Regions from separate parts of the Homo sapiens genome. Here all the other regions are linked to region 1. The links are contacts of gene promoters, found by promoter capture Hi-C in blood cells and fetal thymus (Javierre and others, 2016). All regions are on one chromosome and are shown on one strand. Each heading gives the region's core, a stretch centred on a gene start or on the middle of the fragment in contact. The rest is flanking DNA. Distances are from core to core; before and after follow the strand shown.

Region 1 (4,670 bases), core at 1,463-3,962:
ATAAGAACAACAGGGAAATGGGGTGTATTTGATAATGCAGTCAAGCAAAGCCAGACAACCTAACTTTTGAGCAGAGACCTGAAGTAAGGGAGTCAACTATGTTAATATCCAGGGACCAGAGTTCTAGGCGGAGGGAACAGCAAATGCAAAGGCACTGAGGCTGGAGTATGCTTGACTTTTTTGAGACAGAGTCTCGCTCTGTCTCCCAGGCTGGAGTGCGGTGGTGTGATCTTGGCTCAATGCAACCTCCGCATCCCGGGTTCAAGCAATTCTCCTGCCTCAGCCTCCTGAGTAGCTGGGATTACAGGCACGCACCACCAGGCCTGGCTTTTTTTTTTTTTTTTTTTTTTTTTTTTAGTAGAGACGGGGTGTCACCATGCTGGCCGGGCTGGTCTCGAACTCCTGACCTCGTGATCCGCCCGCCTCGGCCTCCCAAAGTGCTGTGATTACAAGTGTAAGCTTGATGTTTTTAAGAAACAGCAAAGAGATCTGTCTGGCAAGGCTCGAAGTGAGGATGGTTGTTCGGAAGAGGGTTAGCCTGGCAGGCCACAGCAAGGCCTTCAGAGTTTACTTTAAGACAAAAAGCTATTGGAGGGCTCTAAGCAGAGGACTAACATGATCTGAATTTTTTAAAGGATTGCAAAGAGAAACACAAGTTCCTACTCATAAAACAAAGATGTATCTCTCATAATCTAGTTATAAGTCAAAGAAAAAAAGCATAGAATAAAAGTTGTGTAGTATGATAGCATTTTTGTAAGAAAAAACACGTATACATGGGAACAAGGCTAAAAGGCTTAATACCAAATTGTGATTTACTATGGTTTGTGGGATTATGGGGTTTTTTTTGTTTTGTTTTGTTTGCAATGCTTTTCTTTGTTTTTCAAGTTTTCTGCCTTAAACATGAATTACTTTGGTAATTTTTAATGTTATCTTTAAAAAGAAAAAAGCACTCCACCATGAGACTTCCCTTGTCTGAAATCTTACTTCAATATGAAAAAAAAAAAAACAAACTCAAAACCAAAAACCAAAACAACATGGGGAACATTTTTTTCCAAAAATTACCACACTTCCCATGCAATGTTTGCCTGTCATGAACCACTGCACAAATCAAGCCCCGCTCAATGTATCAAGGTCACAAAACCAACTTGGTTAATATGTTGATCATTACATAGTGGCTCTGTCCTCTACAGCAACTTTGATACCATCTTTCCAAGGCAGCAACAGAAGGGCCCTTTTCATTCATTTTCTATGTGTCTTTGATACTATTTTGCGCTTCTGGATTTTTCCACTGTATGTCTCTTAGAAACAAATTAAGCTCGAATAAGTTGTTCCAGCTAATGAAGTGCGCTTTTGGCTCCTTCTCCGTGGTTCAGAATTATCCGGCAAAATACCAATTGTTTTAGGATGCATTTTCTCTTAGTTTTGAAATATTGCAATACTAAGTTACCACAAATAAAGAGCATTGAGATAACAACACACAAGAACGTGTATAAATGGAAACTACTGTAATCCTTTTTTAAATTAAGGACGTGTGGACGCCTCATGAATAAACATTTAGGATATCTGGATAAATATATACTATGTGTTCACATAGATAAAAACAGAAAGGAGCATTCCTTCCTACCTCACTCCCCCACCCCAAGTCACATAAGTTTCTCGCAGGGCACAAGCCCAGGGCAATCACTGCTCAGAAATGTAAACCATGCAACTCAAAATGACTCAAGCCCTCAAACACTCCCCACCTAAGTCCTACATCCCATCCACTCCTCAATCACTTCCAACAGGCTTCCCTGAATGAAAATCCCAAACTGGGAAGGCTTAACAAGCTCCAAACTCCACTCACACGCCACTCAGGGAATCCGAGGACCTGGGGCCCACGTGTAGTGTTTTCGCGTGGGCAGACAAGGGTCCCAAGATTCAGGGTGCTACTGTACCCCGAGTGGTTCGAGTCCTGGCTCTGCCGCCTTCACTGGTCGAGCTGACGCTCTTTACACCGGGGGCATGGGCTGCCACATCCCAGCAGAGTGCAAGGGCCCTCGGGCGTGGACGCAGGCGGCTCTCGGGTGCACACGCGGAACGCACACTCGGGCATGCACTCTCACACGGTCAGGCGGGCCTGCGCGAACGCCCCCGCTTCCCCTCTACCACCCCCTTTTGCGCCTTCTACGATGGTGGCACGCGGGGCTACCCTGACCCCTAGGACCCCTGGACGCCCGCTCCTGGAGCCCGGGGGGTGATGACAGATGGCGGAGGGCGGGGCTCCGGGGGGAAGGGGCGGAGCCTCTCAGCATGGGGGTGCTGGCGGCTGACAGAAAGACCAGGGGCAGCCGGCGGGAGGGGGCTGACTGAGACTGCGGGCCGGCCGCGGGCCAGGCGTGGCGGGAAGGAGCTCGCGCAGACACAGGGTCTGACAGGCAGAGAGAGATACAGACACCGGGGACTGACAGCCGCGGGGGCACGCGGGGCCGGCTGGCCGTGGCGGGCGCTCACCTGGCAGCGGCGGCGGTGGCGGCGCCCGCGACCGGGCCGCTCTTCCCGCGCTGCGGGCCTCCCTCCCCGCGGCCGGGCGGGCGGCCGGCGCAGGCCCCGCAGAGGCGGCGGCGGCGGCGACGCCGGAGCCGCGGACTGCTGAGCGGCGGGGACGCAGCTGCACCAACCGACTCCGGGCCGCTCGGCTGGGCTCGGCCGCTCTCGGAGGCGCTCGGCTCTGCTCGGCCTTGCACGGCTCCCCTCGGCCTTGCTCGACTCGGCTGGGGGCGTGGCCCAGGCCCCCCAGTCCGCCCAGGTCGCCTCTGGCGGCCGCGGGGCGGGGCTTTCGAGCGGGTGCGAGCCCCCTGACGTCGCGGGGAGCGGACCTTGCCCCCGGCGCATGCGCCAGCACTCCTCCTCCCCCCTCCTCCCCGCCCCACCGTGTGGAGGCTGAAGAAGACGGGGAAGGAGGCGCTGGGGGCGGATGCTGCGGTCCCAGAGGTTCCTGGCTTTTGTACTCCATATCCTGCTCTTTCCAGAGGACCACTTAAAGAAGGTCACACCAGGTTACACTTTCAAAAGGATGTGTGTGTAGGCTGGCAGGGGCTCTCGCTCCTGTCTGCCCCCACTCCTCCAATTCCAGTGTTTCCCAACAAGCGTCGACTAGGAGTGGTCTTTTATCCAACCAAGGGTTCACTGCAATTTTTAATATTTTCTGTTTTCTTAAGAATAATAACAAAAAAACTAACTCTTGATCACTGTTTTAACATTGAGTCTTCAAGTACTTGAACTTTCAAACATCAGTCAGCCTCCTCGAGTCCACTAATACCGTCCTTTCTTCATAGCTGTTGTATAACCTGTAATGCCTGGGATGGGGTTGGGTTCTTTCCTGAATTCTCGTCACATGATCCAGGCACCTTTTTAGTTATGGAACCAAGTCTGCAGCAAATATGCTCAGAAAGTGGCTCCCACCTTTAGAATCCAGTGATTAGTAAACAGCAGGAGCTCTACGGTCTTGACACACCTGGATGGGAATCCCAGATCTGCATTAATCTAGCAGGTTAATAATTGTCTGAGTGACTTTGGACGTGTTAATCTCTCAACTGTAAAAGGGCAATGAAACATGAGTAAATCAGTAGAAATATTAAAAGGGTTAAATGACACCACATATAAAGATTTCTGCACAGTGCTTGGTGTTCAATAAGTAAGGCTGCCTTTAACTTCAAGTAACTTTAGAACCTTCAGATCCTGAAAACCAGGGAGCATATACACAAGTGTGAGCGATGTGTCCAAGTAAACAAGTCGATAGTCAAACACCCATACGTGGCACCTTAGCTTGCTCCTTTCACAACCTTCCCTACCTCAGTTCATGTCAACTCCATTCTTCTGATGACTCCAGACAAACCATTGGAGTCATCCTGGACTCCACTCTCCCTATCATATCCCACATGCAACCCATTAGAAAAGCCTGTCAGCTCTACCTTTAAAATACCCCTTTTCCTCTTTCCTGGAATATTGTAGTAGCCTCCTGCCTGTTCTCCACGATTCCACTGTGCTCTCATGGTGCCTTCTCTCAACACAGAAGCCAGAGGGATCCTGTTGAAACCTAAGCTCAAAAGCCCCCAGAAGGTTTCCCATCTCAGAGTAAAAGCCAAAAAAAAAAAAATATGGGGGCAGTGGGGTGGAGAGTGGGACACAGTCTCACTCTGTCTCCCAGGTTAGAGTGCAGTGGCCCCATCACAGCTCACTGCAGCCTCAACCTCCCAAACTCAAGCAATCCTCCCACCTCAGCCTCCCAGGTAGCTAGGACTACAGGTGCACGCCACCATGCCCACCTATTTTTTTCATTTCCAAAATGTGGTTTTTTTCCCAAAGGCTTCCAAGATCCTATGTGTCTGCCCTTCGTCCACTTATACTCTCCACCTCTCTAACTGCACCTCCTTCCACTCGGCCTCCTCATTGCATGCCAGGCACACTAGCCTCCTTCTTGCTCCTGGAATATGGAGGCTCACTTCTACTTCAGAACCTCTGTACTTGGTGTTGCTTCCTCCAGATATCAGAAAGGCGTGTGCTTTCCAAGTTTCTACTCAAAAGTCACCTCCCCAGACTTTCCCAGACCACTCTACTAAAGTATCAAGTCCCAACTCCAATCACTATCCTCTAAGCCTGCTTTACTTTTCTGCCTAGCCCTTCTAACCTGA
Region 2 (4,697 bases), core at 1,248-3,747, 170 kb before region 1:
TCTCCCTACCTCAGCCCCTGTTGCTCTGACGCTTCCCCCACCACTATGAGTCCTAGGCCCCTGTTGTTTCCTTGTAGGAGGGAGACCCCAGATTTTTATTTCTTCTCCCAACCCATTCCATTTCCTCTCCCTTGTGAGAGGGCTCTGCAGAGACAGGGCAGCAGAGAGAGACTTGGAGATATGCTGGGCTGTGGTCAGGAGGGCCTCATTTATCTAGTGAGCAGGAACAGGTTATATAGCAGTGATGCTTTCATAGTATTTTTCTTGAATAAGGTCCCCAAAACCTTATTAAGTTCCTGGTAGGCATGGAGCATTGAAGATGGCAGACATGGTGCAGTCTCTCAAGGAGTTTACGCTCTAGTGGAGAAAACAATCAGACAGCCTTAAAATACATGTATGGCTACTATAATAAATACTGTGAAGCAGGAGTGCACCACGAAACCTGGAGTCCTCTCCATCCTCCCCTTCTGTCTGTGCTGGCCCTGCTTGGCCACTTCCAACAAGGATTCTGAGGCATTACAGAGCACACGTCTAGGGTACAGGCAGTCTTGGCTTTGAAGTATTGTTGGCTTTGCCACTCACCAACTGCCACCTTAGGTAAGTTAATTAACCTCTTTGTGCTCAATTTCCTCACTCGGGAATTGGGGACCCTAATACTTACTTCATAGTGTTATTTGCAAGTATAAAATATAAGGCAGTTTTTATCGTTGTAAGGCAGTCTTATCAAGAGCTTTATGCAATGTCTATGCAAAGTAAATATGCAAGAAATTAGTGTTAGGATGCCAGATGCTGCTGTTGCTCATCGTCTCTTCCCACCCAGCAGAGGTAGTAACTACTTCATCCTCTACTTCTCAGCTTCTTATAGTATTTGTCTGTGGACTCTAACGTAAGCTATCTAGCATAATACTCATATCTAATTTTTCCTTCCACATTCAAGCTCCTTGAGGTACTTGTATTCCAAGTATCTAGTTTAATGTCTCTCATGTAGGTGCTCAGAACGTATGGTTAATTTTGAATAATAAAGCCAGTGGGACTTCTCAGAGGGCTGGATTGGGGGCTGGTGAGAGAAAAGGAGATGCGAAGGATCATTCTGAAGTTTGGAGTTTGGGTACCTGTTTGAATGGTGATGCTCTTAGCTGACCCAGGGGGTATGGCAAGAGGCCTTGGTTCTGGTGAGAGAGAGAAGACAGTGTTTGGTTTTGAGGAGTTGTCTTTGAGACGTTTTGAGATGAAGAGTGGGGATAGCAAGTAGGCAGCTGAATTGAAGGATCTGAAGCTTAAGAGGAGAGGACTAGGCTAGAGACCTGTTTGTGAATTATCTGTACATAGGAGGTAATTAAGGGTGTGGGCATGGCTGACACTGATGAGGAAGAAGGCAGAGCACCGGAAGAGAGGACCTTGACCTGAGCCTTGACCAAGGCCATTGCTAAATGCAGGTAGGCCTGTAGCGCACAAAGAAGCATGAAAACCAGGCAAGGTTGTGCAGGAGAAATCAAGGGCAGAGCTTCAAGGAGAGAGGGCGTGATCAACCATGTTGATTGCTCTGAGGTGTCAGGAAGGAGGACCATAGATAAGTGATTTATGGGTCAGGCACGGTGATTCATGCCTGTAATCCCAGCTCTTTGGGAGGCCAAGACTGGCGAGTCATTTGAGCCCAGGAGTTCAAGAACAGCCTGGGCAACATGGCAAAACACCATCTCTGCAAAAAATATAATCAGCCTGGCGTTGTGGTTTGCCTGTAGTCCCAGCTACCTGAAAGGCCAAGGTGGGAGGATCACCTGCACCTGGGGAGGTAGAGGCTACAGTGAGCCCTGTTGGTGCCACTGCACTCCAGCCTGGACAACAGAGTGACTTATGGGCCAGGCATGGTGGCTCACACCTGTAATCCCAGCACTTTGGGAGGCCGAAGTGAGAGGATCACTTGAGGCCAGGAGTTTGAGACAAGCTTGGGCAACATAGTGAGACCCCATCTCTATAAAATATAAAGAAAAATTTTAAAAGTGACTTATACCCATTGCTCTGGTTCTCCAAGTAGCCTGAGTGTACTATGTGGGGGAGCATTTTATGAGGGACTTTTGAGGTCCTGGGCATCCCTGAGACATGGCCCTGGTGGGTCCCCAGTCTCTCTCCTGTAGCTAGGAGCCTGGCATACACAGGCCATCTAGAAAGAACTTAGGCAGCATCAGTCTGCAAGGGAGGCAGAGTTTGGAGCACACTAGACTCCTGACACAGAGGCTGACCCATGGCTGCCTGGAGAATCTTCTGGGCTTGTGCAGAAAAGTTGGGGAAAGCCACCTTTCCCTACTGTGGCAGTCAAGGCTTGGTATAGGCCATCTTCCCTCCCTTCTCATCCATGATACTCTGAATGCCCTGTTTGTGGAACTTAGTGGACTCCTGCACCTCTGTCTTGGTTTCCATGAACCCCTCTGCCCAATGTGTGCTTGTCAGCCCTCCAGACCTGGCTTTTACAGAGCACTCCAAGACATTGCTCTACACACACTCAGCTCCACAGACACCTCCCTGTTGTTCTACTCGTTGCATGACCTCATAGTTATCTGCTTCCCCATCTGTTTCCTCCATCAGGCAGGGGTTTTCTCAAAGGCAGGAACTCAAATGCCTTATTGATCTCTGTTTCCCTAGGACCCAGCCCAGGGCCTGACATGGAGTAGATAGATGCCCGATAAATGTTTGATCAGATGATGGAATGAATGACTGCATAAGCCGAATAGATCACTGCTGAGTGCTCTTCCAGCTTTAATTTCTCTGGGTGGGACCTCCTTTCCCTTCCTTCCTTTGGATTCTGTTCTTACCTCTGAAATAGGTGAGATTAATTTAGAGTCCTAGGGAAGAGGGCTGCCTGCCTGGATGGTACAAAGGCTGGCTGTGGCTGCTCTGTGTTTCTCTGTATACCCAGTGTCAGGGATAGCAGCTGCTGTGGGGACACTGCAGAGTGTCCCAGTTCTGCCATGACTCACCATATGACCATGACAAGACCCTTTGGACCCTCTGTTTCCTCATTGTTTCAAAGAGATTTGTCTAGAATCTAGACCAAGCTTGTCCAACTCGCTGCCCGCGGGTCTGGTTTGAAGGCAGCTGCTGCACAGTAATGGGAAGGACAGTAAGCCCCACCATCGCCTTCCCTTTGCCATATAACCCTGTGACCTCAGAAGTCCCTGAACCCAGATCCTTGTTTGTAAAATGGAAAGGGATAGCTACCCACCCCTCCACTTTGACCTTCCTTTGGTGGCAGCCAGATGTGCTCAGGGAAACCTCAGATTTGTGAGTATGTTTCTACTGAGAGGCAGGAGGAGGAATATTATAGTCTCAGGAAGAGGGAGGAATGAGAGGGAGAGGAGAACTCTCACCCTTTCCACAGGCTTTGGGCATATGCAGCCAGCTTGGAAATGCTGACCATCCTGTGACCTGGCTACTATTGCATCAGGCTTCCTTCCCACCTGTGTCCAGGTCCTATCTTTGTCTCTTCTTTGGCTACCTCCATCCTTTTCCTTCAGAGCTGCAAAAACCTTGCCAAAGCCGTATGGTCCTGATGGGTGCAGAGCCCCTGTGCCTCTGGCTGCCTGTGAAGGGGGATCTGCAGTGCAGTGCCTGCCGTACCCCACAGGGAGTTGTATAGGAACCTGGGGATGGGGTGACTGAGGTAGGGGGCCAGAAGTGGCCCAGATGATACTCACTTCTGCTGGAACTTTTCTTTGTCCATCTTTCAGCATCCTCTGGTGGAGAAGGCTTAGCTCCATTAATGCTCTCCTAGGTCCTGGCTGTGTATTTTCTTTGGTATGGGAGTGGGGAACTGGGAGGGACTCATCTGTTTGCCACAGACTACATGTGGAGAGGGTGATTGGTGAGAGGTCATTTTGGAGATCTACACACCTCTTCTGACCCCTGGGACCACTCTCCTGAATCTCCTCATGGTCTTGGCTTCGGGCCCAGCAGGGCGTGGGTGCTCGGCATCCTGCTGCTTTTACTGTTTTTCCCAAAGCTCTGTTAGCTTCCCGTGGTTCCCACTGGCTATAGGAATCTTTATGTAAGGACTTCCCAGTGTTTCCAGACTGTATTTGCCCCCAGGGGTCACATTCCCCCCAACTATGCCTGCTGCTGCTTTTTCTGTTCCCGTTGTTACCTCACTGACCACTGCATTTTCAGTATTTGTTGTAGCCCCTCAGCCTCTGTGGCCCACTGTGCCACCTCTTCCAGGAAGCCATCCTTGATACCATCTTTCTGGTACCATTTTTGAGCATCTGTGGCCTTTGCTGCCTGTTAGATAATTAGCTCTGGAATCTAACTCCCATGTGTTTACTCCTGCTCTTAAGTACTCTGAACATTTTGAGGCCTCCCCAGGCCCTGGGTTTGTGTTGGACTGGTAGGGAATGGAGAGAAGAGTCAAATGTGGTTTCTTCCTTGGAGGAGCTCATAGGCCAGTGGCCTAAGACACCAGGGAAGCACCAGCAGGTGTGACAAGTGGTGACACACAAGAGAGGAGGGGGCACCTAGTGTGCCCCTGGCCTGGGCCTGGTGGGGGCTTAAGTGAGGAGGTAGGAGTGGCTTGTGCAAAGGCTGAGGCAGGAAGGAGTATGGGGAGACATGGGCTGGTGTCTGTGTTGTGTTAATTGGACTTGGACCCTTTTGAGGAGGGCTGGGCTTTCCCTGCCTTCCTCCAGTGCCCTCTGCAGAGTGGGGCA
Region 3 (4,694 bases), core at 1,820-4,319, 200 kb before region 1:
GTTATCTTCACCACAGGTCTTATGTCTCAAGGACCACGGGTCCACGTCATAGTCAGGAACCAGGCATGTGTGGGCAGAAATCACTACCACTTTCCTTTGTTGCGGGTGGGGAAATTAAGAGCAGAGATTCTTGGATTCTTAAATTCCTTCTCTATGTTTATGTCATCTAGTCTGTTTTATGCTGTTTTATGTAATTCCCTGCTTCTGGATTTCTTGAATTTTTTTCCCCTTCTCACTTGTCATAATTGGCTCTTGCTTGTGAGTCTATTTTCATTCAGCTTGGTAGCAGAAGTCTTCTTCACTATTGTTTAGATTCAGTTTTCACATGGTTTTAGTAACCCTTCATTGGGTTTAGAATCAACTTTTAACCCTTCCACCAAAAGCTCTTATTTTTTTAAAGGCTTCCCAGAAACATAGTTTCTCTCAATCTCATCAAGAAATGCTTTTAAATGCAGAAGTTAGAAAATGGTGAATAATTATGGCTGTTCCTGGAAGTCATTGTGTCCTTAGTAATTACATGTTGTAGTCTTTGGTTCTGCTTCTTTGACAGCTCCACCACACTGTAATTTAATGGAATTCACTTAGATTTAATGGAATTCAGTCCTGGTAGAAAACTGCTATTGGGTCACAGAGTTGGCAGCAAGGCTGTGAAATTGATGTGGGAATGGGGGTGATTATGTGCTTTGTGTTGACAGAAGTTAGTTTTTGGGACATCCCATGTGGGTTTTTCCCAGGAACATAAACATTTTAGAGAATTAGAGCTAGAAACTTTCTTCTGGGAAAGCCTTAGAAGTCAGTTGTGCTTGGCAGTGAGATGGGACAATGTGCATTCTTAACAGGTTAAATGTGCCAAACTCTCTCTTCAGTACTATTCTTTTTTACGTTTGCTTAAGGTCAAGTTCCTGCTCTTTTGTTCAAAGTCTTGCTTTGTCACCCATGGTGGAGTGCAGTGGCGTGATCTTGGCTCACTGCAACCTCTGCCTCCTGCGTTCAAGCAATTCTTGTGTCTTAGCCTCCCTATTAGCTAGCTGGGATTATAGGCTTGCGCCACCTTGCCTGGCTATATTCAAAGTCTGTCTTTACTACACTGTCCCAAAGTAATCTACATTTGGGTTTGGGTCTTTACAGGGTGAGAAGGACTGGCAGAAATACGAGACTGCTCGGCGGCTGAAAAAATGTGTGGACAAGATCCGGAACCAGTATCGAGAAGACTGGAAGTCCAAAGAGATGAAAGTCCGGCAGAGAGCTGTAGCCCTGTACTTCATCGACAAGGTGAGAGCATCTTCCCATCGGCATTGTCTAGTGTTGAGCTTAACAAAGGGAGTTTCTGCTCTGCCCCAGGCCCTGTGCCACATACTGTATATCACAACTCAACATACATATATTTGTATGTAAAACTGAATCAAAAGTTGCACAAAACAATGCTTAGCCTTACTGTGAGCAGTAGATTCTGATCTTTTTTTAACTCTATTTCATTCCTTTAGAAAGTTGGTTATAACTTATAAAATTGTTTAAATAAACCATGCAGGTATCACCATTATATAGTTTTAAAGACCACGCTCTAGAGGAGATCAATTTCTTGGTACTCACGAGAAGAAAAAAAAGTTCATGTTTTTCCCCCAGTCTTGTATTTTAACATAAGTTCTGAATTGTCTCAAAATTCACACTAGCTTTTTGAGTTTGATTGCCCAGAGTAGCAGCACTCCCTCATTTGCTGCCTTATTTAATTTTTTTTTTCCTTTTCTCCATCCCTATTTCAGAGGACAGAATAGAAAGAAAAGGAGCATGAATATTTAACATCCCTATAGATTTCATAGTGAGTGGGGGAGGAAGTAACACTGCAGAATCCAGAGTTCCCAGGCCATGCTGACTGATGCTGTGGCTTCAAACAGAATTGGGAGGCTTCTGTTTTGGATGCCTAGAAATTGCATAAGGGTCAAAAGGCTGGGCGCAGTGGCTCACGCCTGTAATCCCAGCACTTTGGGAGGCCAAGGCAGGTGGAACACGAGGTCAAGAGACCATCCTGGCCAATGTGGTGAAACCCCATCTCTACTAAAAATACAAAAAAAAAAAAAAAAATAAAAATTGGCGTGGTGGCGGGCGCCTGTAGTCCCAGCTACTTCGGAGGCTGAGGCAGGAGAATGGCATGAACCCGGGAGACGGAGCTTGCAGTGAGCCAAAATTGCGCCATTGCACTCTAGCCTGGCGACAGAGCGAGACTGTCTCAAAAAAAAAAAAAAAAAAAACACAGAACGAAATTGTGTAAGGATCATGTCTCTTCCATTCATGCTCATCTTTTCTTTCTTTCCTGGGCAGCTTGCTCTGAGAGCAGGCAATGAAAAGGAGGAAGGAGAAACAGCGGACACTGTGGGCTGCTGCTCACTTCGTGTGGAGCACATCAATCTACACCCAGAGTTGGATGGTCAGGAATATGTGGTAGAGTTTGACTTCCTCGGGAAGGACTCCATCAGATACTATAACAAGGTCCCTGTTGAGAAACGAGTAAGTTAATGTACCTGTACTGTCTGACTTGTTTTCCATTATTCAACAAGCATGGGTTGACTGCTTTTTTGTGTGCTTTGCACTTTGCTGGGCACCAGCAAAAGTGACTTGAGACAGGCAACATGGCACATGCCTGTAGACCCAGCTATTCAGAAGGCTGAGACAGGAGGATCACTGGAGACCAAAAGTTTGAGGCTGTAGTGTGCTGTGATCACACCTGTGAATAGCCACTGTACTCCAGCCTGGGCAAAATAGTGAGACCTTGCCTCTCATATTAAAATAAATAAAAATAAATGACTTGAAAGAGGGGAGAGGTATTATTTGATATCTTGTGTACCTCCTTTTAGTCACTGTTCCGCCCTGTGCTACCTTCCTGGTAAGGAGTGGCCTTCTCCTATAGCAGTATTCAATGGAGCATGCTGTAGAATAGGCCCTTAGAGCAAACTCAGCATATGATTTAACTATATCTTAGTATCCCCTGGTCATGTGGTACATTTGTCACTTTTCATCTTTGCTCAGCCTTTCTCCAACTCCTGACTGAGTGAAAGGTTAATGTTAGTCCCCAGATCTCTGAGCCCATCACTGAAGAGGGTACTATAGCTCTGTAGTCCCAACCTAATCTTTTCCATAGTATTGGGCTTGAACCAGAGACTTACAGTGTGCAGGATCCTAATAATCCAGCCCACCAGCAGTCCTCTTCTTATAAAGACACCTCTTCTCATAAGGACACCATAATCAGTAATCAGGTTTTGCTGGCTGTGGAAGTACTCTGGACAGATTAGATAACAGTATGTATCAATGTAAATTTTTGAAGCTGATACTGTGTAAATGTAAGGGAATATCTATTTTTAGAACATACACACTGAAATGTTTAGGACCATATTATAAGTAAGTACTTATAAATGTACTTTAGGACCATATTATAAGTAAGTACTTATAAATGTACTTTAGGACCATATTATAAGTAAGTGCTTATAAATGGCTCAGAACAAACAATTATGTATATATATCTGTAAATATACACATGGAGAGAGTGAGCATACATGCACACTGTGCAAATGATGAATGGGGTAAAATGTTAACAGTGAATCTCGGTGACGGATGTATGCGTGTTCCTTGTGCCTTTTTCTTTGCAAGTTTCTTTAAGTTTGGGGTTATTTCTAAAGTTAGGATTTTTTTCAAGAGTAATAATTAGGATTCACTTATATCTTTTAGGTTTTTAAGAACCTACAACTATTTATGGAGAACAAGCAGCCCGAGGATGATCTTTTTGATAGACTCAATGTGAGTAGATGAAGCACACAATGTTGAAGGGAGTCCCAGCCAGAGCCTCACAGTACCTAAAGGGGAGGGTTGCTGGCAGATGACTTGGGCTCTCCCTTTAGCCTGGCCTGCTCTGTGGCATCCCATACACTCTCTCTTCCTCCCTCTGAGTCCACGGTGAATCTGTAGTCAAGAGAAGACACATCTGCTGCAGAACAACTGCTAAAGCACTCAGGGTGGGGGGTAGATGAGCCCTACCTTTTATCCTTCCCTGCTCCTGCAGAGCTTTCCCTTCACTGAATGCCCAGCCACCCCTGCTGGAGACCCAAAACCTGTCCCTGATATCTTAATAGGGAAGGAAAAATTTGCTTTATTGGTTTGTTAAGCCCACCAACCTGGGCCAGGCTTGGTGGCTTACGCCTGTTATCCCAGCACTTTGAGAGGTCAAGTAGGGCAGATCCCTTGAGGTCAGGAGTTTGAGACCAGCCTGGGCAACATGGCAAAACCATTATCCAGGTGTGGTAGTCCACACCTGTAGTCCCAGCTGCTTAGGAGCCTCAGAAGGATTGCATGAGCCCGGGAGGTGGAGGCAGCAGTGAACCGAGATTGTACCACTGCACTCCAGGCTGGGTGTCAGAGTGAGACCCTGTCATACACACACACAAAGATTGAAATACTTCATAGAGAGGCATCATGTAACCCTGTATTCTGGAATTCTTTTCCTCTTTCCCTAACTTCCCACTTGTAGGGCAATAAACTTGACAAGATTGTGACTGCACTGGCATAAATTACTCCTAGGGCTGCCAGAAGGAGCAGGTAGTATAGCTTTGACCTAAATCTGTTGCTTTGTCTCCTCCAGACTGGTATTCTGAATAAGCATCTTCAGGATCTCATGGAGGGCTTGACAGCCAAGGTATTCCGTACATACA
Region 4 (4,593 bases), core at 1,415-3,914, 250 kb before region 1:
GAACTTCTGGGCTCCCACATTGGCATCCCATAGTGTTGGGGTTACAGGCATGAGCCACCATGGCCGGCCCTCTTTTAAAAAATACATAAATAATCTCAAAAGGAATACTCTTCTAGATGCCAAGGAATTACGTAGCTTGTAGGATCTCACGAGCTACCTTTCTTAAAGGGTTACATTCTTATCCATTGTTTATCTTTAATAGTAGATCTCTTGTATAAACAGAATATTATTAAAAGCAATTTGGGAGGGGGGCTTGATTTTAGAAAATAAGAGAATCGTGTGAAATGAAATTCCTCCTAGTTTTCGACTCTGTGCATCTCTTGCCAATTTTAAACCTGGCATTCACACTGGAGTGACAAATTTGTGGAAAGCAAGGGAAGACAGAAAACTGCTGTAAAATAGCAAGGGAAGTACTTTTCCAGCCATATTGGCAGTGCTATTCTGTACTGTCAGTGTGAGAAACATCTGAGAATAAGGATGCTTTTGGCTTCTGCTTTCCTTTTAGTTCCAAATCCTACCTGAATTGTAATTGAGAGAATGTAGGATTTTAGGAATATGCACTTGAATTACGCATCTAGTTCTCAGATTAGGGGAGATTTTTCTGAAATTAATAAAATTTAAAAGATATGTTTGCTGCTTTCCTTGTGAGTGGTTTGCCAAAGCCCTCCCTTTGTCTACACATCACTATATCATCCTGTCTGTGGGAAATGGACAACTAACATGGGTAGGCAGAGAAGATTGAACAGTTTGGAAATGAGGAAACTCAGTACCACCACCATTCACATGGGAGTCAGTATGATATATTGAATAGCACACTAAGATAAAAGTTAAGAGGCTGGGTTCTGTCATTTATAAGCTACGTGTCGTGATCCAAGGTGCTTAACTTCTCTGGGTCTCATTTTCTGTTTTGGTCAAGGGTTGATAACAGTACCTGCTTTATCAATCTTTCAAGTTTGTTTATGCACATGACAGCTCTTTGGGAACTGTAACATACTAAATAATTGAGATAATGATGGTGATGATGATAATTACCGCAAAGCCTAGTATAATATCATGCAGATAAATTGGAGCTCTTGAGTTTGGTAGTTGAATCTAATTCAGTAGTTATTGATAGCATTCAATTTGGAGCCCTGATATTTTCAATATTATATTTATCCCTATCATAGTACGCCATAATCATTGTTTTTAAGATTTCATGGTGGAGACAGCATTTGAGCTAGCCATTCAAAGATGGTTAAAATTTTGCTAACGGAAAGTAATGGTTAGAAAGAAAAACATAAGCAAAACATAGAGGCATTGTAGTATATGCTTTGTTCTGGGAGGAATCTAGTTAGGTGGGTTACACAGGGTGGAATAGTAGAAAATGAGACCCAAAAAAGTGGCTTGAGGCAAAACTATTAAATGCCATTTCAAAAAGTTGGAACTTGTTACTTACACTAACTAAAAATCGGGGGGAAATGTTGGGACTCGATTCTGAGCTGAGCAAGAAGCCACTGGAAATACTTGAGCAAAGTGGATATAAGACTTAGCTACAAATGACATGAAGGGTCTAAGAAAAAGGGTTCCTGTCTTGGATAACTGGGTGGCTGTTCACGCTATTAATAGAGACAAAGAACTTAAGGGAGGAATGGGAGTTAGAATGGGTATCGGTTTTGCCATCTTTGGGCACATCCTTTTATCCTCTCTGGCCTGAAAACAAAGGATTAAATAATTTCTAGGAAATTACATTTACCTTGAAGTTTTGATACTTCTATAATATAAAACGCCGGAGTCCTTGTGATTTTGTTTAGAGATATATAATCGGCATTGTAGTGTGTAATGATGATGGACATTAAGGAACCCTTGTTTCTTAGTGCCTTTTGGAAACTGGCTCATTTCAGAAGCTGCGCTCTTTTCCCAGAGGCAACTTTTGAAGTTACTTAAATATTTAATTTAACAAATATCATTTAAGATTTAACTGTCTACTATCCTTGAAAGGGTCATGAGTTTCCCTCCTAAACCAAGACTTTGAAGCTCTCTGTGCTGTCTCACAGGAATCCCCATGATCCAACTTCATGTGACCTGCAGAGGTCTGCTGCCTTGAGGAGTAGACAGGTAGCTGGGCTGTTAGTGGCTAAGTCCTTTTCTCAGAATATGTGGAGGCTCCTTCTACCTTTAACAGTGCTTTTTTGCTTTGTTTGGGAAGTAACAGAGTAGTCAAGTGCATGACCCTGGAGCCAGACTGCCTGAGTTTAAATCCTGTTTCTCTCTTTAGAGGTAGTTCCTTGGGTGAGTTACTTAACTTGTCTGTGCTTCAGTTTCCACATCTGTGAAATGAAGATACCAGTAGTTACCTGAGTTTTGTTACCGATATCAAATGTGCTTAGATGAGTGCTTGGCACTGGGTGCTACTCAAGTATCTGTTAAATACTTTTATGGGGGATAGAGGACAGATTTAAATGGTTTCCCATAGCCAACATTCTAGCTTTCCAGAATATCAGTATTTTGTTGTGGTAGCGGTGGTCTTTTTTCCTAAAGAAACAGTGCTTCGCCAGAAGGGAGACATTGTTCCCTACTGGCTCCCTACTTCCACCGTTTCTCCCACTCTTCTATATAAGTGCCTTAGAGAAACTCTGGTCACCCTTTTCTGTGGTCTGCTTAGCTCCAACAAGAATCATAGACCAAAGGTTTTGCTGTCATCACTTTAAAAATAGTGTAAGTTATTTTTTTCTTTCCTTTTTTTAAATTTTTTTTTTTTTGAGATGGAGCCTCAGTCTATCGCCAGGCTGGAGTGCAGTGGCGTGATCTCGGCTCACTGCAGCCTCTGTCTCCCTGGTTCAAGTGATTCTCCTGCCTCAGCCTCCCCAGTAGCTGGGATTACAGGCATGTGCCACCACGCCCAGCTAATTTTTGTATTTTTAGTAGAAATGGGGTTTCACTGTGTTGCCCAGGCTGGTCTCGAACTCCTGACCTCAGGTGATCTGCCCGCCTCGGCCTCCTGAAGTGCTAGGATTACAGGCATGAGCCACCACGCCCAGCCAGATTATTTTTTCTTTAGTGGAATTCAGCCAATTGAAGCATAACACATGGCATGAACACTCTGGAAAGGTGGCTTTGGATCTTTCCATTTGTTCTCTTTAGCGCTGACTTTTGCTTTCTAGTCCCTGCTAGTGTGTTGGAATCTTACCCCATACAGATGCAAACTATGAACCAAGAAGTCAGCATCTATGCCTAGCCAATAATTGGTTGTTTTCTCGTTCAGAGTTCCTCATGCCCATGGGGTAAATTCATATTTCATCCATAAGTGTGACCATTGCAGAAGTTCTAGGACTGCTACTGTCTGTATTTTTGTCCTTCAGCATATCCCAGACTAAACTTACTCTTAAAATATGTTTGTCCAACCTTTGGTTTCCTTCCTATGGTTGATATTAAGCCTTTCTTCTACTCTTAGAAGACAAAATGGGGAGACAAAAAAGGCAACCCTGAAGGTTTTTATCCTTTCAGGGTATCTAGCATTTTTCTAATTTAGCCCTACTGAAGTTTCTTCAGTAATTAATCATCTGTTTTTCAGCCTCTAACCTGGCTAATATTATAGCCTACAATTGTACTTTTAAAGCCCTTTTGTGACTTTGACATATTGTGTCTATTGTGTATGGAAAAGTAGCAGGATCAGTATGAAGATAATACAGTATCTCTTAAAACAGGCAGCCAGCAAATGAACTTTCTGCATTGGTCAGAATTTCCATCATTTCACTGTTAATGAGGAAAGTACAGTTCTTTAGCTACCATGAAAGTCAAACATATCCTAAGCCTTTTGGAAAAAGACATACATGTTAGAAAATCTCAAATGGATGAGTCAGCCTGACTGACCCCACATTGACTCCATTTTATATGCTGGCCAAATCCTGTTTCTGACTTTCCTGGCACAGCCCTGGACATGCTTCTGTATCATAGGACTTGTTCCCCAGCGCCTTTGCTACTTCCTTCAGGCACATTCCTAGGAAAGATTGGCAGTGGGGTTTGCTCTTTGCCAGCACTCCTGCCGGTTTGGGGGTTATGGATGCCAGGTTGGGCTCCAGGCACTCTGCTCTCCATTTGTGGAGGCAGGGACGGTAACAGCACCTGACAAGTAGGGATGATCACATTGTATTCAGAAGCCTGGTGGAGCTCTATAAACCCAAATTTCTAACAGTCTCCAATGTAATGCCCTGTAATAGAAGCTGTCCTTAACCCTCAATCATCTGTATTCAGCTAGTATAAAAATGCAAATCTGCTCTTATGCCTAAACAGTTAGGAGTAGAGGAGACTTGGCTTCCTTTGGAAAGTCAGGATGATAGCTTCATCCCATTCTGGTTTTTGTGATTAATTGTGACCTACAAAGGGGTTTACTACTCTAGCAGGAACTTTGAATTTCCTATATACATCTCTTTCTGGTTAGCAGGCAGAGGAAATATCGTTGACTTTTGGCTTCCTGGCAAATGTCTCATTTGCCTTGTCATTTGTTGATTCCTTTTCCCTGATCTCTGTTTGGTGTGATAATGTACAGCAAAGCTGAAAACCGCAGGGCTACATGTACACTTGTAGGTACCTATGTTGTGATTGCCAAAAGGCTCA
Region 5 (4,467 bases), core at 167-2,666, 230 kb before region 1:
AGACCAAGACTCATAAATATATGGTCAATGATAGTGGTAAGAAATTTATGGAATATGGATTATTGACATTTTGCTCAAACCAGAAAAACTTCCCTTAATTTCAAGGATTAGCATTCAGAAGCTACAGCATCTGACCTTTATTTCTAAATTTAAAAAAATTAAATATGAGTTTTATAGCATACTGTGAAGTGCTTGTTAACTGCAAGGGAACTTGATATCAAACAGCACATGGAGTTTACTTTCCTGTCTTTATATTTCTAGCACTTTTCCACCTTTCCCCCTTCAAGCAAATTTTATTATTAAATTGGTACTTGATTATTCAAGTCAAGCTGCCAAAGGGAAGCCATTTCGATGTCTAAGTACATGTTTTTGTTTGTTTATTTGTTTTTAAATTGCGGGGGGCGGATATATGCACTCATGGGGAGGCTAAAAGGACAGAACTGTTTGCTTTTATTTGTATAATAATAGCTGTCAGCCCAGTCACATGAGCTTACTGAAACAGATATTCTGTCTTTCTGTTTAAACTGAAGTTTAGTGTTGTGATTTGCTGAATCTCTTAATTTGCTTAAATGGTAAAGAAGTTGCTGTGGGTCTTCAGGATACACATGTTGAAATAGGAGTCGTAAAAACAGTTTGGAGTCTTGATTTAAAAACACTGTAGGGCCGGGCGTGGTGGCTCACGCCTGTAATCCCAGCACTTTGGAAGGCCGAAGCGGGCAGATCACGAGGTCAGTAGATCGAGACCATCCTGGCTAACATGGTGAAACCCTGTCTCTGCTAAAAATACAAAAACAAAATTAGCTGGGCGTGGTGGCGGGCACCTGTCGTCCCCAGGTACTCAGGAGGCTGAGGCGCGAGAATGGTGTGAACCCTGGAGGTGGAGCTTGCAGTGAGCGGAGATCACGCGACTGCACTCCAGCCTGGGCGACAGAGCGAGACTCTGTCTCAAAAAATAAATAAATAAATAAAAACACTGTAGTCGATGAGAAGAATGGTGCCAAAGTCCCAGGATAAGGGAAAGGGTGGCGTTCGGAATCTCCTCACGGTTACTCTGTGACTGCTGCAGACAGGCTCCTTGCAGATGCTCTCATACACCTACATATATATATATTTTCTCTATTTGGAGAGTAATAGACTGTAGGATTGGGTGGTTTCCTGCATTGAGATCCTTCTATTAATATATCAATGACTCTGCCAATTTCATACCTGAAAAAGTGGTAGGTTAGTTATAGAAGATCTTTAATATTCCTTTGAGGTCTAAGATTCTGTTAAATATTTTTGTTTAAATTGTGTAAAATACATATGACATAACATTTATCATCTTAACCATTTTTAAGTGTACAATTCGGTGGCATTAAGTACATTCATATTGTTGTGCACCATCACCATCTCCAGAACTCTACATCTTGCAAAACTGAAACTCTGTAGTTATTAACAATTCCCCACTTCTCTGTTGCCCCAGTTCTTTTTTTTTTTTTTTTTTTTTTGAGACAGAGTCTCGCTCTGTCGCCCAGGTTGGAGTGCAGTGGTGTGATCTCAGTTCACTGCAACCTTCGCCTCCTGGGTTCAAGCAATTCTCCTGCCTCAGCCTCCCAAGTAGCTGGGATTACAGGCTCCCACCACCATTCCCGGCTAATTTTTTATATTTTTGGTAGAGACGGGGTTTCGCCATGTTGGCCAGGCTGGTCTCAAACTCCAGACCTCAGATGATCTGCCCGCCTTGGCCTCCCAAAGTGCTGGGATTACAGGCGTGAGCCACCGTGCCCAGCCTATTCCCCCAGTTCTTGGTAAGCACCATTCTACTTTCTGTCTCTATGAATTTGACTACTTTAGGTACCTTGTATTAATAGTCATACAGTATTTGTCCTTTGTGACTGACTCATTTCACTTAACAGAATGTCAACGCTCGTCCATATTGTAGCATGTTTCAGAATTTTCTGACTTTTAAAGGCTAAATAATATTCCATTGTTTGTCCTGCATTTTGTTTATTCATTCATCTTTTGATGGACATGGGTTATTTCTGCCTTTGGCTGTTGCAGATAGTGCTGCTGTGAAACATTCGTGTACAAGTATTTGTTTGAATATTGAGTATATTCCTGGGAATGGAATTGCTGGGTCATGTGGCATTTCTGTGCTTAACTTTTTGAGGAACTGCCATACTATCTTTTCCACATTGGCTGCACCTTTTTACGTTCCTACCAGGACCACACGAGGGTGCTAGCTTCCCTACACCTTCACCAACACTTGTTATTTTTTGTTTTATTGCCATCCTTATGAGTATGAATGGTATCTCATTGTGGTTTTGATTGGTATTTTCCTAATGATTATTGATGTTGCATATTTTTGCAGGTGCTTATTGGCCACTTGTATATCTTCTTTAGAAAAATGACCATTCAAGTTCTTTGCCCCACCCCCACGTGTTTTTTTTTGTTTTTGAGATGGAGTCTTGCTCTGTCGCCCAGGCTGGAGTGCAGTGGCGCAATCTTGGCTCACTGCAACATCTGCCTCCCAGGTTCAAGTGATTCTCATGCCTCAGCCTCCTGAGTAGCTGAGATTACAGGCGTGCACCACCACGCCTGGCTAATTTTTTGAATTTTTAATAGATACAGAGTTTTGCCATGTTGGCCAGGCTGGTCTCGAACTCCTGACCTCAAGTGATCCCTCCGCCCGCTTTGGCCTCCCAAAGTATTGGGATTACAGGCGTGAGCCACTGCGCCCAGCCCCTATTTTTAATTTTATCTTTTTTTTCCCCTCCACCTTAAGACTGAGACTTTGCCCATTTTTTTAATTGGGTTGTTTATTGAGATGTAGGAGCTGTTTATATATTTTGTATGTTAACCCTTTATCAGATACATGATTTACAAATATTTTCTCCTATTCTGTGAGTTGTCTTTCACTCTCTTGAAGTGTCCTTTGATGCACAGAAGTTTTTAAGTTCAGTGAAGTTCAGTTTATTTATTTATTGAGACAGAGTGTCTCTCTGTTGCCCAGGCTGGAGTGCAGTCACGTGATCTCGGCTCACTGCAACCTTCACCTCCCAGGTTCAAACGATTCTTGTGTCTCAGTCTCCTGAGTAGCTGGGATTACAGGCGTATGCCCCCATGCCTGGATAATTTTTGTATTTTTAGTAGAGACGGGGGGGTCTCGCCATGTTGGCCAGGCTGGTCTCGAACTCTTGTCCTCAAGTGATCCGCCCACCCCAGCCTCCCAAAGTGCGGAGATTACAGGTGTGAGGTACTCTGCCCAGCTGCAATTCATTTATTCTTTTTGTTACCTGTGTTTTACGTGTCATATCCAATAAATCACTGTCAAATCCAATATTGTGAAGCTTTTCCCCTATGTTGTCTTCTAAGAGTTTTATATTTTTGCTCTTATATTTAGGTCTTTGATCCATTTTGAATTAATTTTTGTGTATAATGTAAAGACCCAGTTTGATTATTTTGCCAACACTATTGTTGAAAAAACTGTTCTTTCTCCATTGAATGGTCTTAAGCATCTTGTTGTAAATCATTTGACCATATATGTTGACTTTGGTTTTATAGTAATACCATTGTTACAATATGGTTTGATACATGTAATTTTTATTTGATGTTTCTGAACTTTGTTTAAAATATTGGACTTGTTCCATGGCTGAATGATTGATAATAAAATAATAAATAAAATATTGTACTTGGAAAGTAAATATGAGGGTAGTAAGTTAGTTATCTATTCGAGTAAAAGAAACTTGAGGCATAGCCAGTTGCAATTTGTGAGCCTGAGTTGGATCCTGGTCTATAAAATAAATTTAGATAAAATAGGGAAGTTTTTAATATGGACTGGGAATTAGAATTATACTAGGAGATTATTTTGTTAGATGTGATAATAGTTTTGTGGTTATGTGGAAGAATATTATTTTTATAGAGATACTTGCTGAAATATTTAGTGGTGAAGTATCAAATCTGCAACCAACTTTGAAAATGGTTCGGCCAAAATAGGAAATGTAGCAAATTATTAACCTTTTTTTTTTTTTTTTTTTTTTGAGATGGAGTCTCACTCTGTTGCCCAGGCTGGAGTGCAGTGGCACAATCTTGGCTCACTGCAACCTCTGCCTCCTGGGTTCAAGCAATTCTCGTGCCTCAGCCTCCTGAGCAGCTGGGACTACAGGTGCGCGCCACCATGCCCAGCTAATTTTTGTATTTTTAGTAGAGACGGAGTTTCACCACATTGCCCAGGCTCCTGACCTGGATCACGACCTCCTGACCTCGTGATCTGCCCGCCTCGGCCTCCCAAAGTGCTGGGATTACAGGCGTATATGGTGTTTATTGTATTACTCATTTTTTTCTTATGTTCGACCATTTTAAAAATACATTTTCAAAAAGTTGTTCCCACTGAGCTTTAGATTCACTTATCAGTGTTTGCTAGATAGTTCCAGGTAATGCGTAAGTACCTTAAACTCAACATGCCCCAGTTAAGCTATCATTTCCTAG

What was found. The method cuts DNA at HindIII sites, captures the fragments that hold promoters and counts their contacts. A CHiCAGO score of 5 or more calls a contact.
Region 2: a fragment that was not itself captured here is called in contact with the fragment with the promoter of ZHX3 in region 1 in 12 of 17 cell types (naive CD8 T cells, non-activated CD4 T cells, total B cells and 9 more); the score reaches 23.4 in naive CD8 T cells.
Region 3: a fragment that was not itself captured here is called in contact with the fragment with the promoter of ZHX3 in region 1 in 9 of 17 cell types (activated CD4 T cells, total CD8 T cells, total CD4 T cells and 6 more); the score reaches 14.6 in activated CD4 T cells.
Region 4: a fragment that was not itself captured here is called in contact with the fragment with the promoter of ZHX3 in region 1 in 6 of 17 cell types (non-activated CD4 T cells, activated CD4 T cells, naive CD4 T cells and 3 more); the score reaches 11.8 in non-activated CD4 T cells.
Region 5: a contact is called between a fragment that was not itself captured here and the fragment with the promoter of ZHX3 in region 1, in 9 of 17 cell types (total CD8 T cells, non-activated CD4 T cells, activated CD4 T cells and 6 more). The highest score is 12.6, in total CD8 T cells.

The regions. Positions count from the first base shown.
Region 1 is chr20:41,315,019-41,319,688 of GRCh38, forward strand. It overlaps ZHX3 (zinc fingers and homeoboxes 3), which reads right to left and starts at 2,713. Exons shown (of 4, transcript NM_001384317.1): 1 at 2,491-2,713. RefSeq lists silencers at 2,233-2,522, 2,533-2,982 and an enhancer at 3,093-3,142. The HindIII fragment of the contact is 7,702 bases long and covers 458-4,670 here.
Region 2 is chr20:41,148,328-41,153,024 of GRCh38, forward strand. All of the region lies in intron 1 of PLCG1 (phospholipase C gamma 1), which reads left to right. Among named protein-coding and RNA genes, the nearest start is that of PLCG1-AS1, 13 kb to the left of the region's middle. The HindIII fragment of the contact is 1,108 bases long and covers 1,944-3,051 here.
Region 3 is chr20:41,111,654-41,116,347 of GRCh38, forward strand. It overlaps TOP1 (DNA topoisomerase I), which reads left to right. Exons shown (of 21, transcript NM_003286.4): 14 at 1,129-1,272; 15 at 2,317-2,502; 16 at 3,718-3,786; 17 at 4,625-4,694. The region is part of intron 4 of PLCG1-AS1 (PLCG1 antisense RNA 1); the gene reads right to left. Among named protein-coding and RNA genes, the nearest start is that of PLCG1, 24 kb to the right of the region's middle. The HindIII fragment of the contact is 6,477 bases long and covers 1-4,694 here.
Region 4 is chr20:41,068,626-41,073,218 of GRCh38, forward strand. The region is part of intron 3 of TOP1 (DNA topoisomerase I); the gene reads left to right. Among named protein-coding and RNA genes, the nearest start is that of TOP1, 42 kb to the left of the region's middle. The HindIII fragment of the contact is 5,680 bases long and covers 1-4,593 here.
Region 5 is chr20:41,087,556-41,092,022 of GRCh38, forward strand. All of the region lies in intron 8 of TOP1 (DNA topoisomerase I), which reads left to right. Among named protein-coding and RNA genes, the nearest start is that of PLCG1, 48 kb to the right of the region's middle. The HindIII fragment of the contact is 3,822 bases long and covers 1-3,327 here.